Regions from separate parts of the Homo sapiens genome. Here region 2 is linked to region 1. The links are contacts of gene promoters, found by promoter capture Hi-C in human tissues and cell types (Jung and others, 2019). All regions are on one chromosome and are shown on one strand. Each heading gives the region's core, a stretch centred on a gene start or on the middle of the fragment in contact. The rest is flanking DNA. Distances are from core to core; before and after follow the strand shown.

What was found. Contacts are between HindIII fragments. The study calls those that stand out against the background at their distance.
Region 2: a contact is called between a fragment that was not itself captured here and the fragment with the promoter of TBX2 in region 1, in 2 of the 25 tissues and cell types used here (H1 embryonic stem cells and mesendoderm cells).

Annotation. Positions count from the first base shown.
Region 1 is chr17:61,398,454-61,404,854 of GRCh38, reverse strand. TBX2 (T-box transcription factor 2) reads right to left here and starts at 5,012. Exons shown (of 7, transcript NM_005994.4): 1 at 4,284-5,012; 2 at 2,904-3,171; 3 at 1,648-1,794; 4 at 358-434; 5 at 86-249. The coding sequence starts at 4,678. It overlaps TBX2-AS1 (TBX2 antisense RNA 1), which reads left to right and starts at 5,249. Exons shown (of 2, transcript NR_125751.1): 1 at 5,249-5,616. RefSeq lists a cis regulatory region at 4,928-4,939 and promoters at 4,928-5,175, 4,795-6,055. The HindIII fragment of the contact is 8,441 bases long and covers 1-6,401 here.
Region 2 is chr17:61,097,362-61,103,925 of GRCh38, reverse strand. The region is part of intron 22 of BCAS3 (BCAS3 microtubule associated cell migration factor); the gene reads right to left. The region is part of intron 2 of BCAS3-AS1 (BCAS3 antisense RNA 1); the gene reads left to right. LOC124904041 (a long non-coding RNA gene) reads right to left here. Exons shown (of 2, transcript XR_007065871.1): 1 at 1-6,564. Among named protein-coding and RNA genes, the nearest start is that of BCAS3-AS1, 35 kb to the left of the region's middle. The HindIII fragment of the contact is 4,958 bases long and covers 1,149-6,106 here.

The DNA of each region.
Region 1 (6,401 bases), core at 3,763-6,262:
GCGGGTGGCTCAGCAAAAGACCAGCCCAGCGACCTGAGGACCCCCCGCCGCCACCTCCCTGTCCCTCCTCCGGTCCGACCCTCACCTCGGGCCCGGTGCAGGCGCAGCGGACTGGGCGCTGCGCCCGGGGAGGTGGGTGGTTCCCGCGCGGGGGGAGGGTCGCACGACGAGGCGTCTGACTCCGCGCCATCGCGCTCGGGTTTGCAGTGCTCCTCGTACAAGCGTAGAGACGGCAGCGTCAGCTGCTTCCTGGGGATGAGCGGATGAACCAGGTCAGCGGGGAGCCCATCCCTCCATCCCTCCTGCTCGCTGCTCCCGCGGGCACCCGCCACAGGGCTGCTGTCCTCGGCCTCTCACCTTTTCTCCCGCCGGCCGTTCCCGGTGTCCCGGAAGCCCTTGGCAAACGGGTTGTTGTCGATCTTCAGCTGTGTGATCTGCGGGGACCAAGGGGGCGGCGCTAAGTCAGGCCGTGGCTCTTCCAGCGTGGTCGGTGGCACCCCGAGGTCAGCGGGTGCTGGCCGCAGAGGGAAGACCCGGGGAGCGTCCACTTGGTACCCACCCGCCTGGGATGGGACGCCCCGAGCTGAGGCCGGTGGGAGGGCCTCGCGGAAAGCGACGGGGTCTGTCCTCCAAAAGCTTCATTCGAGGAATTATCCCTAGACAGGCCTAGACAGCCCCACACAGGCCTAAAGCAGTGCCACAGTGTCGGAACCAGCCCAAGCATGCACACCCGCCCGCGGGCTTGCGCAAGTTAAACGACTCCGCACCCGAGCAGGCGCGAACAGAGACTGCAGTTCACACGCAAGGCTGCAGGTACACACAAAGCCAAATCACACTCACGGGCTCGCACACACGCAAGTGTGCACAGACATAACAAACGCCTACGGAACCAAACGAATTCACATGCCTCCACAGGTATCCAACACACCCCAAACGGGGCACGCACAGCCCAGCGTACACCTTGGTTCACAAAGCCACAACGACCGGCACGGACACTCGTACCCTCTCTTTCACTCGACAGTGGCGCACAAGGGCACAGGCCTAGAGGGGTGATGCTCTGCCCCACTAGAACAAGGGTGGAGAAGCCGCAAGCAGAAAAAGCCCTTTGATTGGAAGGTAATTCTCTAAGCGCCTCCCAAGGGGTCTGGGGCCTAGACTGACCCAGAGCAGTAGCCAGGAGTGCTTTGGGGGGCTGTGTCACCTGTCCCACCCTCTGGCTCCCCCCGAGAGAGTGAAAACTGGGCCCCGGGTTCTGAGCATCGGTAGAGCCTGGGCAGATTGCCTCGGGCGCCCTCTCTTCACTTACATTCTCATTCCTGAGCCAAGAAATAAACGAATAAAATGTAAAAATGTCAGCGCGGGCCCGGAGTCTCAGCTAATTGTTAAGTAAACATCTCCATCAGAACGACGGCCCAGCTGTTCGCTCGCCCCAGGGGAGCCTGTGTGTGCGCGCGGTGGGATTGAGAGGGCGCCTTGAGGACTTCCGTGAGTGCTGCGCGTATGGATGCGAGGCTCGGTGCTCGGGGGCGGGCCGCAAGAGCGCGGATCCCGTGCAGGGGGCTTCGAGGGGCGATGAACGGACGGTTGGGCCTGCACGTGTTGAGGGGCGTCAGTGCAGGGGCTTAGCCCACCGCCCGCCGCGCGCACCTTGTCATTCTGGTAGGCAGTGACGGCGATGAAGTCGGTCTCCGGGAACACGTAGGTGCGGAAGGTGCTGTAAGGCAGCTTCAGGATGTCGTTGGCTCGCACTATGTGGAAGCGCGGCTGGTACTTGTGCATGGAGTTTAGGATGGTCTGCGGGGAGGGTGGGGGTCAGCCGGCAGCCACCAGCCCCGGCCCGAGCTTTTCTATTCTTTGGGTACCTGACCTCTTCCTCTCCACTTTCTCTCTCTCTCTCTCTCTCTCTCTCTCTCTCTCTCTCTCTATCGGTTCTTCCTCTTCCCCATTTTCTCCTGTCTCTGCTCTTTTCTCACCCTTATTTCTTTTTCTTCTACTTTTCCTCTCGCTTTTCTCTTTTCACAGCTTCTTTTTCTCTTGCCATTAAAAAAAATTTCCCAGTTGGAAACAGAAATGAGACAGAGCAAAAACAAAACAAAACAAAAAACAAAACAAAAAAACCAACCAAAAAACAACCCCTCCCCACAAAAGAAACCCAAACAAAATAAAACAAAACAGAGCCCTACAATTCCACTCTTAACACTCTCTTCCTTTCTGGCACTGGTAAACCCCCTAACCCCACAAAGAGGAGATTCCAACCTTCGGGGGCTCACCAACTGCCCTACCTCAGAATGGGCAGTTCCTTTTACCCTATGAAACACCACCCCCGTTCGCTGGGGCCTTGCTCAGGCATAAATGGAGAGAACCCCCAAACCCTCTCCTCCTAGTTGGGCATCTGCCTGTGGGAGGAGGGAAAGGTCTTAGGGAGGCTGGGGGGGTGGGTGGGGAGGGTGGTTTAACTTTTAAATCCCCTAGTCTTGGGGGAGGGCCAGGGACGCGGGTCTTGGCAGAAGGGTGATGGACAAGTTGAGGTCATGGGCAGGTCTTCCAAGCTCGGCACCTACAGGCCAAGAGCAGGGTGACCTCCGTGGTCCAGCACTGCAGACCCAGTCCTGGCAGCACCTGCCTCCCTATTGACGGTACAAGGGACCCTCCACGGCCTGAGGAACTGAGATTGTGAGCTGCCAGCCACTGACCCCACCATTTCCCAGGCTTGCAAAGGAGAGCGCTGGGGCCCAGGCCCAGGCCCAGCCCACGTAGACCACAGGGCAGTGACCCGGGCAGGGGCACTCTGGGGGTTTGCCCAGCGCTTCCCCCTGGGAGATCCTGCCGCCCTGCTCTCCTGCTCAGCTGCAGTGCTGGGTCAACAAGCTCCTGCACCGTCCCCACCCTGCCCCAACACTCACGAAGCCGTGCTTGTCAGAGATGTTGTTGGTCAGCTTCAGCTTGTGGAAGGCCACAGGCTTAGCCATCCACTGCTCCCCCGTGGCTGGGCTGTCTGGGTGGATGTACATGCGTTTGGGCATCTCAGGGTCGGCCTTGCCCGCCACCATCCAGCGCGAGTTGTGGAACTTATAGCGGCAATCGTCAGCGGCTACAATGTCCATCAGCAGGATATACTTGGCCTTCTTGTCCAGGCCGCTGACTCGCACCTTGAAGGGGGGGAACATCCGCCTGGGAGGGAGGGAAGGGAGGAGATCCCATTGGAACCGGCTGTTCTAGGTTCCAGGACCCCACTCCTCCTTTATTTATCCCTCCTCGTTGCGCACACCGCTGCCGCCTGGCTGTTTCCCCTGTGGTCGGCTGCTCTGCCCTCTCATCACTGCCCGGACGACCCCACCTGTGGTTGTTGCTCCCAGGAGATCCCATTTCTGCCTGTCAGACCCTCTCCTAAACAGCCTCCTTTAGGCCTTGTGCTCAGATCTGGGGACCCTCTTTCTCCCTGATCTGAGATGAAAGCTGATGCCCAGGAGAGAAGTCTAGGCCCTCTAGAAATATTCTCGCTTCTCCTTAATCTCCCCGAAATTCGTTCAGGGGAAATACCCACTTGGGACGGAAGCTCCCAGAAATAAATCTGGAGGGTGTTTGTATTGGGAACTGGGCTACAGAGCCTGATAAGACATCCTGGCCGTGCAGTTCGGGGGAAGAGGGTGAACCCGAGGCCTGGATTCTCGGTGGCTGAGTCGAAGGGTGGAGGGGCCGGGGCTGTGGCTTTCTTCAGGCTTTAAGGCCTGGGGCGGCGGATGCGTCCAGGGCTCGGATGCCCGCGGTGGAGAAAGGGCTCCCAGCCCGGTGAGGCGGAGGGCTCGGCTGACCCGGGGCTCGCTGCCAGGAACCGAGCAACCAGCGTGGGGTTAGCTGGGCCCAGGTCCCACTAGGGGCTTCGGGGTCGGAGCAGAGTCTGAGAGAGGCTGAATTTCCCCCGAGCTCGGAGACGGACCCGGACGCAGAAGAGCGAGAGCGCGGGGCGGAGGAGACCGCCAGGGCCAAGCCGCGGGGCCTCCTCTGCGCTGGGACTCAGAACGGTTGGGGCTATTCTTTAGCAGTATGTTTTCGTTTTATTTCATTCGGAGGATTTTAGCGTTTTTGTTTTAAAAAAAAATCGCTCCGGTGCCAAACGAGAAAAGTCAACTTGGTTGTCCGTGGGAGCGAAGCGTGGCGTCAGGGCCAGAACCTGGAGCCGGGAGCCGGGAGCCGGGAGTCCCCAGCTCTGCTCTGATCCGTGCAGTCCCGTGCCCCAGCCCGCCCGCCCGCCCGCGCGCCTTCCAGCCGGCCGGCAGCCCTACCTCCCGGACTTGGTGATGACCATCTCCGTGCCTAGCTTGTGGAACTGGTCCCACAGCTCCTTGGCCTCCAGCGTCACCTTGGGGTCGTCCTCCACCTCGTCCTCGGGCTCCAGGCTCTTGAGGGAGCGCAGATGCGCGGCGGGCGGGTGCGGGCCCAGTGCCGAGACGTGCAGCCCCGCCTCGGCCGCTGCTGCCGCCGCCGCCGCCGCGGCCGCCGCCCCCGCCAGGCCCGGGTCGGGCAGCGGCTTGGCCAGCGCGCCGGGCGGCAGCGCGAGTGCCGGGAAGAAGGAGGGCTGCGCCGCCGCCAGAAAGGCGGACATGGGGAAGTCGGCGGGCCGTGGCGCGTGGAACGGGTGGTAAGCCATGGCGCTGGCCGCCAGCGCCGGCTCTCTCATCGGGACATCCGGCCCAGGCGCCCGGGGGCCGGGGCCGGGGCCGGGGGCGCGCGGCTCGGACCCCCGGCCCGGGCGGCGGCGCGCGCGGTGGACGGACGACCCGGGTGGCGGGCGCAGCAGCTGCTCCTCGGGGCTTCCCGTCCGGCGCACCGCAAGGGGCACCCGGCTCTGTGCGCGGGGGCGGCGGGGGCTCTGCGCGGGGCCGGGCTGGGCCGGGCTGAGCTGGCCCGCTCCGGCGCCGGGGACCACGCGCGACTGGTTAGATCTTGTCGTGATCTCTGGAAAACTGTGACTATCTCACATGTCCTGCCCAGCTCGGATCCCCTGCGCTAACGAGCCAGGCCCCCCTTGATTGCTGATTTTACGCTTTTTGGACCAATTGTGGGTCTCCGGGGGCGGGGTTTTGACAGCTCAGGCCAAGCTCCGGCCGGGAGGGGGGGCCTGGGAGAAGGTGTCGGAAGCCTCAGCAGTAAGAAAACATGTCAACAGAATAAAATATTAACCAATGACGGGCCGCCGGGCCCCGAGACCCCTCCTCCTGCCCCGGCCCCCACCGCCCGCCCGCGCCTGCGGCTGCCTGCGCCGGACTGGAGAGCGCGGAGGGCCGACCTGACCCGCCGAAAGGGCCTGAGGCGAGGGGAGCCCGGGTCCCGGGGCCTTGGGGAAGGACCCGCAGCCGCACGCCGGCCCCAAGTGCAAAGCATTGACACGACCCCGAGCGGAGAGGGGGCGCCCTCCTTCTCCCGCGCCCAGAGGCCCGGCCGCTCTGGCCCGAGCCCCAGCCTGGCCTCCGACCCAGCTCCGGGTCGTGGCGCCGCCTGGGGGTCCCTGCGCCCCGGAAAGAGACAGCAGGCACTGGAAAGCGAGGCCGGTGGGCGGGCGAGTCGGGAGGCTCGGGCGGCCGAGGTCCGGGAGCGGATCCCAGGTGGCGGGAGCTGGTGAGTGGAGCCATGGCCGAGCCCTGCTGGGGCCGGCGCGGGCGGGAGCGGGACGCGGCCTTGCGCTGGGGAAACGCGGGGACCCCCTACCCGCGCCCGCCTTCACCGGAAGACTCGGAAGGAACCTGGAGTTCTCCGCAGGCCCGGGCCCCGCCCTGAGCTTTCCAGCGGCCGGGAGGAGCGGATCCTCGGGGCCAGGAAGGTGAGCGCACCTTTCGCTGAGCACAGGGCGGCACCGCGCGGGCGGACCCCGGATTCTCCACCCGCGACCCAACGAATTTTCGCCCTATCCGGTACCGGAGACGAAAGTCTCCTTCTTCCGAAATACCGGCTTCCTCTCTTCGCCCTGCCAACCACTTTTTTAGTTTCTTCTCATCTCTCGGAAGCGCACGTCTCCTAAGTTAAGGAGTGCTGAGTAACGCGTGAGGGAGTTGGGGTGTCTGCGAGCACCTGTGATTGAAGCCCCCTCTTCTGTGATCAGTCTTCGTTTTCTGTCTTCCGGCAGCCTCAGTTTCCCCCCCATGAAGTGATGGTGTGTGTGTGTGTGTGTGTGTGTGTGTGTGTGTGTGTGTGTGTGTCGGGCCCCGTGTGGTGCCCTCTGTGCGCAGCGAGAGCTATAACTCAAGGTGTGCACGGGGAGAGTGAAGCGACCACGCACCTGCTTCCAATCGGGCTCGGGCGCGAACACTCAGGCTGATTCCTGAAGGTCGTTTTCTGAAGGAAAAGACAGAGCATGCACTAGCCACGGGTGACATTCCCACCCGTACAACCGCGTGGTGGGCGCG
Region 2 (6,564 bases), core at 2,378-4,877, 300 kb after region 1:
AAAGTCTCACCCAGGCGAAAGACTATCTGCCAAATTTATGCCAAGAACAAAGTTTTATAGCCAAGTTAAAATCTTTTGTGTATTTAGGGACTGTTATAAAAATAGTAACATTTTCTGCATCCTTGAGAGAGCCTTTTCCTTATAGAGATGAAACAGGATTATCAAAATAGGAAGATAGTTGCTGTGAGGGAGCAATAGAAACAGGACAAACTGAAACAGAGACAGAAAAAAGAACATGAAAGACAAAGACAGAGTAAGATGGAGTGAAAAACACACATAAACAGTCTGACATGCTCAGGAGAGTGATCTGTTCCTCTGCAAACCAAATAGCTTCATTTCTTTGCCTTTTTAGGCTGAGTAAAATGTATTTGCATGTAAAAACAAATATAACTAAAGTTAAATCCATTTGGGCAGCAGTATTTTGAGGTTCTTTTTTAAGAAGAGGAGACTTAGGGAGTTAATTTCATTCCTTAGTCCCCACCAAAAACCTCCATGAACTGGTTAATTTCAGGTCAGTAGGAGTTCCTGGAGTTAGAGTAAAAATGTCAACATATTCCTTACTAAAGCCACAGTGATGAATACTTTTCCCTTAAACGATTCTCAGAGCTGCCTCAGACTACTGCAAATGTATCCAAATGACAGAGGATCACAGATTTTAGAATCAGAAGGGTGTTTGAGCATTTAATATACAAATTTATTACAAGAGTAATAAGGAGATACACTGTTATACCAGCATAATCTAAGAAGGGAAGAACTGAATGGTAGGGATGCGGGTACAAGAGAATAATTTCTGGGATTTAGATTCTTGTCTGAAATATCAGAATATAATCTGTTATTGGAATATATCTTCATACCAAAGCACATTATAGCTAAAAACACAGGCTCTGGAATCAGACTGCTATAGGGATTCAACCAGGAATCTACAACATTTCAGTCTGTTTTCTCAACTGTAAAATGGGGACAATAGTATAACCTATCTTCTTAGGATGCTCATAATACATTATGATACACGTGAAGAGCAAAACTAAAACTTTGGGACAGACAGAAAGGAAATATTTTACGGAAAGAAGGTAAGGTGGTGACAACTGACATTTAATGAGTCCTTGTTATGTACCTGAACTATGGCCAGAAGATTTTTATTATCTATTAATTTTTACAACATCAGAGACAGATGTTCCTATACTCTTCTTATGGACAAAGAAACTCAAGGTCATGTACCCAGTCAGCTACAGAAATGGGAATGAAATCTACACCTAACCACAAAGCTCATGCACTTGCATTACACACGTCTATTCAAAAAATTTATCAAAAATGGACTTTAACAACAAGCTATGTAAAACATGTTCATGACAAAAAAATTCAGATGACACTGCCAAAGTTGGGAGGTAGTATACAGTACTTAATTTCTCTAAATCACACCTTCTTCTGAAAAAAATGGAAATTGTAACAGTGCTTTTACCTCATAATATTTTGTGAATACAGGTGATAATGCACGTGAAATGCTTAGCATAGTGTATTCAGTAACCAAATGTTACCTAAAACCACTGATAGTTCATTATATATCATTTAATATGCATACAGGAGAGAAACTCTATGAGCTGCATATAATTCAAGATTTAAAAACAGATGTTAAGAATCCTATTTAACTTTTAATTCCATAATTTTTCAAGAATAAACCTCTCCAAATAGGTTTCTTTCATGAAAACAGATGCATACAATTCAAAATTATATCAGCTTACGTTAATTTTCATGATCACAACCTCAAAATAATTTTGTCTCAGCTAAGGACATCTACTAATTTGCATATAGCTATTTTTGTGAATGTTAATAGTATTGCATTCAGGAGGTTCCTTAGTAATTCCTTATTTTTATTCTTGAGACCATATATGCTAAAGTAAACTACAGTGAAAATTACACCATCCATAGAAGGAACTGATAAAGGTATCATCCCACAGCCTTTCAATTTATTAGTATTTTTATCATATCAACTAACTAGAAGGCAAAACCTAGTCACCGTTTTGCAGATGGATAAACAGAGGCCAAAAATGGGCCAGTTAAAGGTACTGCAGTCCCCATGCATTAATGGGTATACTTTCATATCTGCACTTCCTTAAATTTATTAAAAAGCCAAATATTATTCTGAAATCAAGGTAGGGAGGTAATTCTGAATACATCACACAAAACAAACCAGAATTTTAAAATGTGAAAACACAAGTCAAGAGGATGAGAGCTGAACAACTCTTAAAAGTTTGAAAGTGGCTAAGAGCTCTTAGATCTTTATAGTAATAAATATTGTAGTGTACAATGGTCCATTGGGAATCCTCACTCATATGTTATTCCATGATTGAAGATCAAGGTGTCAGGTCCATTTAGAATCAGTGTATTTTGGGTATGTTTTAAGCTTTAATCCATATTTTGAAAAAATAGTTAACAATATTTCTAAGGGAAATATAATCACTTTGCTTGCCTTGCACTCCCCCACTCCCCACTATAGAGTGAATTGTGAGTTTCAAACACTGGTATTCCTTTAGTTTGAATTTTCCCATAAGTAGACGGAAAGGTAATGACCTTGGCCTATCACGATTCTTAAGTGGAAAGCCTTTTTCAGCTTAAGAAACCACTACCTGATTGAGAGTGGCTTTCCTAGCTGAAAATAACTGTTTACTGCTTAAAGGATAAGTATCTGTGAGATGCAGGTATAGTTAGGTGAGTCTTGAATATAACATTCTTCCATCATCAAAATCTCATCGGAGAGGTTTTGCCAATGGTCTTTTAAAATAGAGGTGCCATTCCAGAGTGGAGGTGATGTATTTTGTGTCCTCTATGATACAACAGTATATGATAAAAAGAATAAATATAAATAGTTCTTAGGTCACATACATGCCCTGATGATTATATGAATGAAATCAAGGTTGGCTGAGATGCTGTTCAAGGTCCGGGAAAAAATGAAGGTTTCACAGATTCACACCTTTGCTCTACCATCTACTAGCTCTGTGACAGTAGACAAGTTATTTAAATCTCTTAACCTCAGCATCTTCAACTGTTGAAAACAAAAAATCTAAAAAGTATGTTGTTAAAAACAGAGTTTAATTTATGTTTGCATGGATAATGCAGGGCCGTGTTGTAAAGGACTCTAGTGGAAAGATGGTCTCCTTGTCACTTCTGCTCCCTAGCCACACAGTTTCTCTTTGAGGAGGTAATTACTGTTCCAGGCAAATGCAAGAACTTGGTTTCAATGTTCCATGATGAAATATTGAATTCATTAACATTTGCTGAGTGCCTATTATGTGTCAAAACCATTCAGGGAGCTACGGGGAGTACAAAGATGAGCTCATAGTCTAGAATGAAAAACAATACCCAACTAATTTTAATATCAGATGGTACACATAACAGTAAAAGTTTAAGAACACATGAGAAAGTAATTAATTTAATCAAGGGGGTGAGTTGGAATAAAGAGAAAGATTAAGAACATGTTTCAAGAGAAATGAAAAGTGTCAGGCACCATAGTAAGTTCTCTCTGGCTTAAGCCGTCTGATTCAGGAACTGGGTCCCTCTCATGGCTATAAAAACTCTAATTTGAGGTACTGACTCATGGCTATGAATTTCTAACATAGGAAAAGGAAAAGGTAGCCCAAATAGAAGATCATAGGGTTCGCTATTTCCTCTTTAGGTAGAGAGAAACAGAAGAGTAAATGGGTTCTGTTCCCAGTCTTACAAGCATTCATTTGAGAACTACATAAACTCATCTAAAGAAGGGATAACTGACTGGGGAGTTCAACTAAGTGTCAAGTGTAACTTAGTGTTCTCTACAGTCTTAACATTGAACATTTATATAATAACTGTTGCCTTTCCAAATATTGTAGAACACCAAAGTAAAATAGGTTTAAGACTCAAGACGCCACTTCATACAACAGAAGTCAATTCTACCATGTTTCTTGTAGCTGTCTAGAGCATAAGTACAAGTAACTAAACTGTAATGACACCACTAAAATTTTGGAAATTCTTCAACAAAATGTTTTGGCTTAATGGAACTTAGGGTCAGTTCTCCATATGCCAATGTCCTATGCCCAAAATGGGCTAGCTTCAAAGGCAGCCCAAAATATCCCTAAAATTATGTCTGAAAGTTAGCCTAGTAAGAGCAGAAAGCAAAAGCCTGTCCATTCTTTTCAACAGATGTTTACCAGTCCTGACCATAGATTCCAGAAAGCAAGACTTCGCTAGAGTTAATGCTTTATAAAGATAACCTTAAAACAAAAATTTCCATGCTAAGCCTAATAGAACGAAAGCTTGTATCAAAGAAATATTCTGTTTAAACATAATGCTGCTTTAAAAGCATAACATAAAAGATAATTTGAAATGCTTTGTAAAATATTTCACTTGATTACACAATTGACCATAGGCCCATACAAAGGAATAGTGATCATAACATAAGGGCAAACCTAACTGAGGACCAGGTTTAAGTCAGGTAACGAAGATAAAGACTCAGCATTACCAACTTGTAATCATGTTATGATATTTAAAGCCTTATGTTTTATAAGAAATCAACAATGGTTATCATTGTTGATTATCACTGACTATCATTATTAATCATCACTGACTATCATTATTAATCAGATATCAAGAAATATTGATTATCTGCTCTGTGGAAGGTACCAATACCAGGCAAAGGGAGATACAAAGACAGCCCTTGTTCTCAAACAGTCCTTTATTATAAGCCATCATTTTTCCCCCTCTGTTCTAAGCATGCTACATATAAGGTAATCCAATAATAATGCCATCCAGGAGTATCTTTTATTTTTTTTGAGACAGAGTCTCACTCTGTCACCCAGGCTGGAGTGCAATGGTGCGATCTCAGCTCACTGTGAGCTCCGCCTCCCAGGTTCATGACATTCTCCTGCCTCAGCCTCCTGAGTAGCTGGGACTACAGGTGTGCGCCACCATGCCCGGCTAATTTTTCGTATTTTTAGTAGAGATGGGGTTTCACCGTGTTAGCCAGGATGATCTCGATCTCCTGACCTGGTGATCACCTGCCTCGGCCTCCCAAAGTGCTGGTATTACAGGTGTGAGCCACCACACCCAGCCCATCCAGGGGTATCTTAAGCCAAGCAGTAACAGAACAATCAGGATCCACACCTACTGTTAAGGTGTTTCATGCTTCCACTTTTACCGTTTTCATTTGGCAAAGAAATCCTGATCACAACAACGTAAAAACATTTAGAGACTTAAGAATTGCTATCAGTATCATCTCCTTCTACTCACTCTTGTCCATGGATCATGGATGCCATAAAATCTGCTAACCGAATTCCTTTTTGCAGCATACCACTTAATTGCAGGAAAAGCTCAAACTCAAATGTGTTATTATTTAAAGCCAAGCCTCACTTCAAATTGAGGTATTTGGGTTTAGAAAAATTCCTCCCCAGAATTCTACTCTGGTATTAGAAAAATCACAATTACAAGCCACAGAATATTAAAGTCACAACTTTGGCAAAATATCAGGATCACTTCAGAGGTAAGATTAGAACTTCAGCACCCAAAACCAAAAATACAATGTTCTAATCCTATAATATCACTCTCTTCTGTGATTATGAAGGCCTCTTAAATACTAAGAACAGAAAGGGGGACAAAGACTCTATTTTTCTCCTCTCCATGCACAACTCAGTCCCAATGTTCTGAATATATGAATATTCTGTAACAACAAGCTACCTTCAAAATGTCCAAGTAATTACAGGTTCAGGTCAAGAACTCTAGACCATATTGATTACCTCTCTATGCAAGAAGGACCCTCCAGCACCATTTATATCCATGATAACAGAGACAGCTTTTAAGGATCTGTGACATTAAGAATTTTCAGTCATATCAATGCCAGGAATGGAAAGCCAATGACCAGTCAGGCCTGTCAGTTGTTGCCTAAAGCAATAAGGACAAGCTGGGAATTCATCACACTGGAACTTCATCTGCCAGCTGCATTCACACATTTTCACCACCTGAATAGTTGATTCTCTTCAACTCCCACGTGGCTCATTTCAGCATACAGTGTTTTGAAATGAATATTTGATTAGGCAGGGTAGAAAGAGGTTTAGACTTATCTGAGGTGTCACCATAATGCACTTTAAGTAATTTTAAGTATCAGGAGCTAGGTGTCCTAAGTCCTGTTCTTTGACTATTGCTAAAATGGACCTTGATCCTAATTAAAGAAGATTAAATGAGATGAGACATGTGGCAAGACCTAGCACAGTGTTGGGCACCTAACTGTTTATAAATTAATACTGGTTTCCCATCTCTTTTACTTCTGTCTATTGAAAAATATCCTGAAGATTCCTCATAGAGCCTCTTGATTATTCAGACATGGGGATCTCACACTGCCAAGGAAACTTAAAAATCACCCTGCTACTTTTCCAATTTCTCTTTTTATCAAAAGTCCAAACCATCACTTAAATATAAACCTAAGAAATAAAGAGGCTGGTCACAGTGGCTAATCCCAGCACTTTGGGAGGCCGAGGCAGGCGGATCACAAGGTCAGGAGATCGAGACCATCCTGGCTAACATGGTGAAATCCCGTCTCTA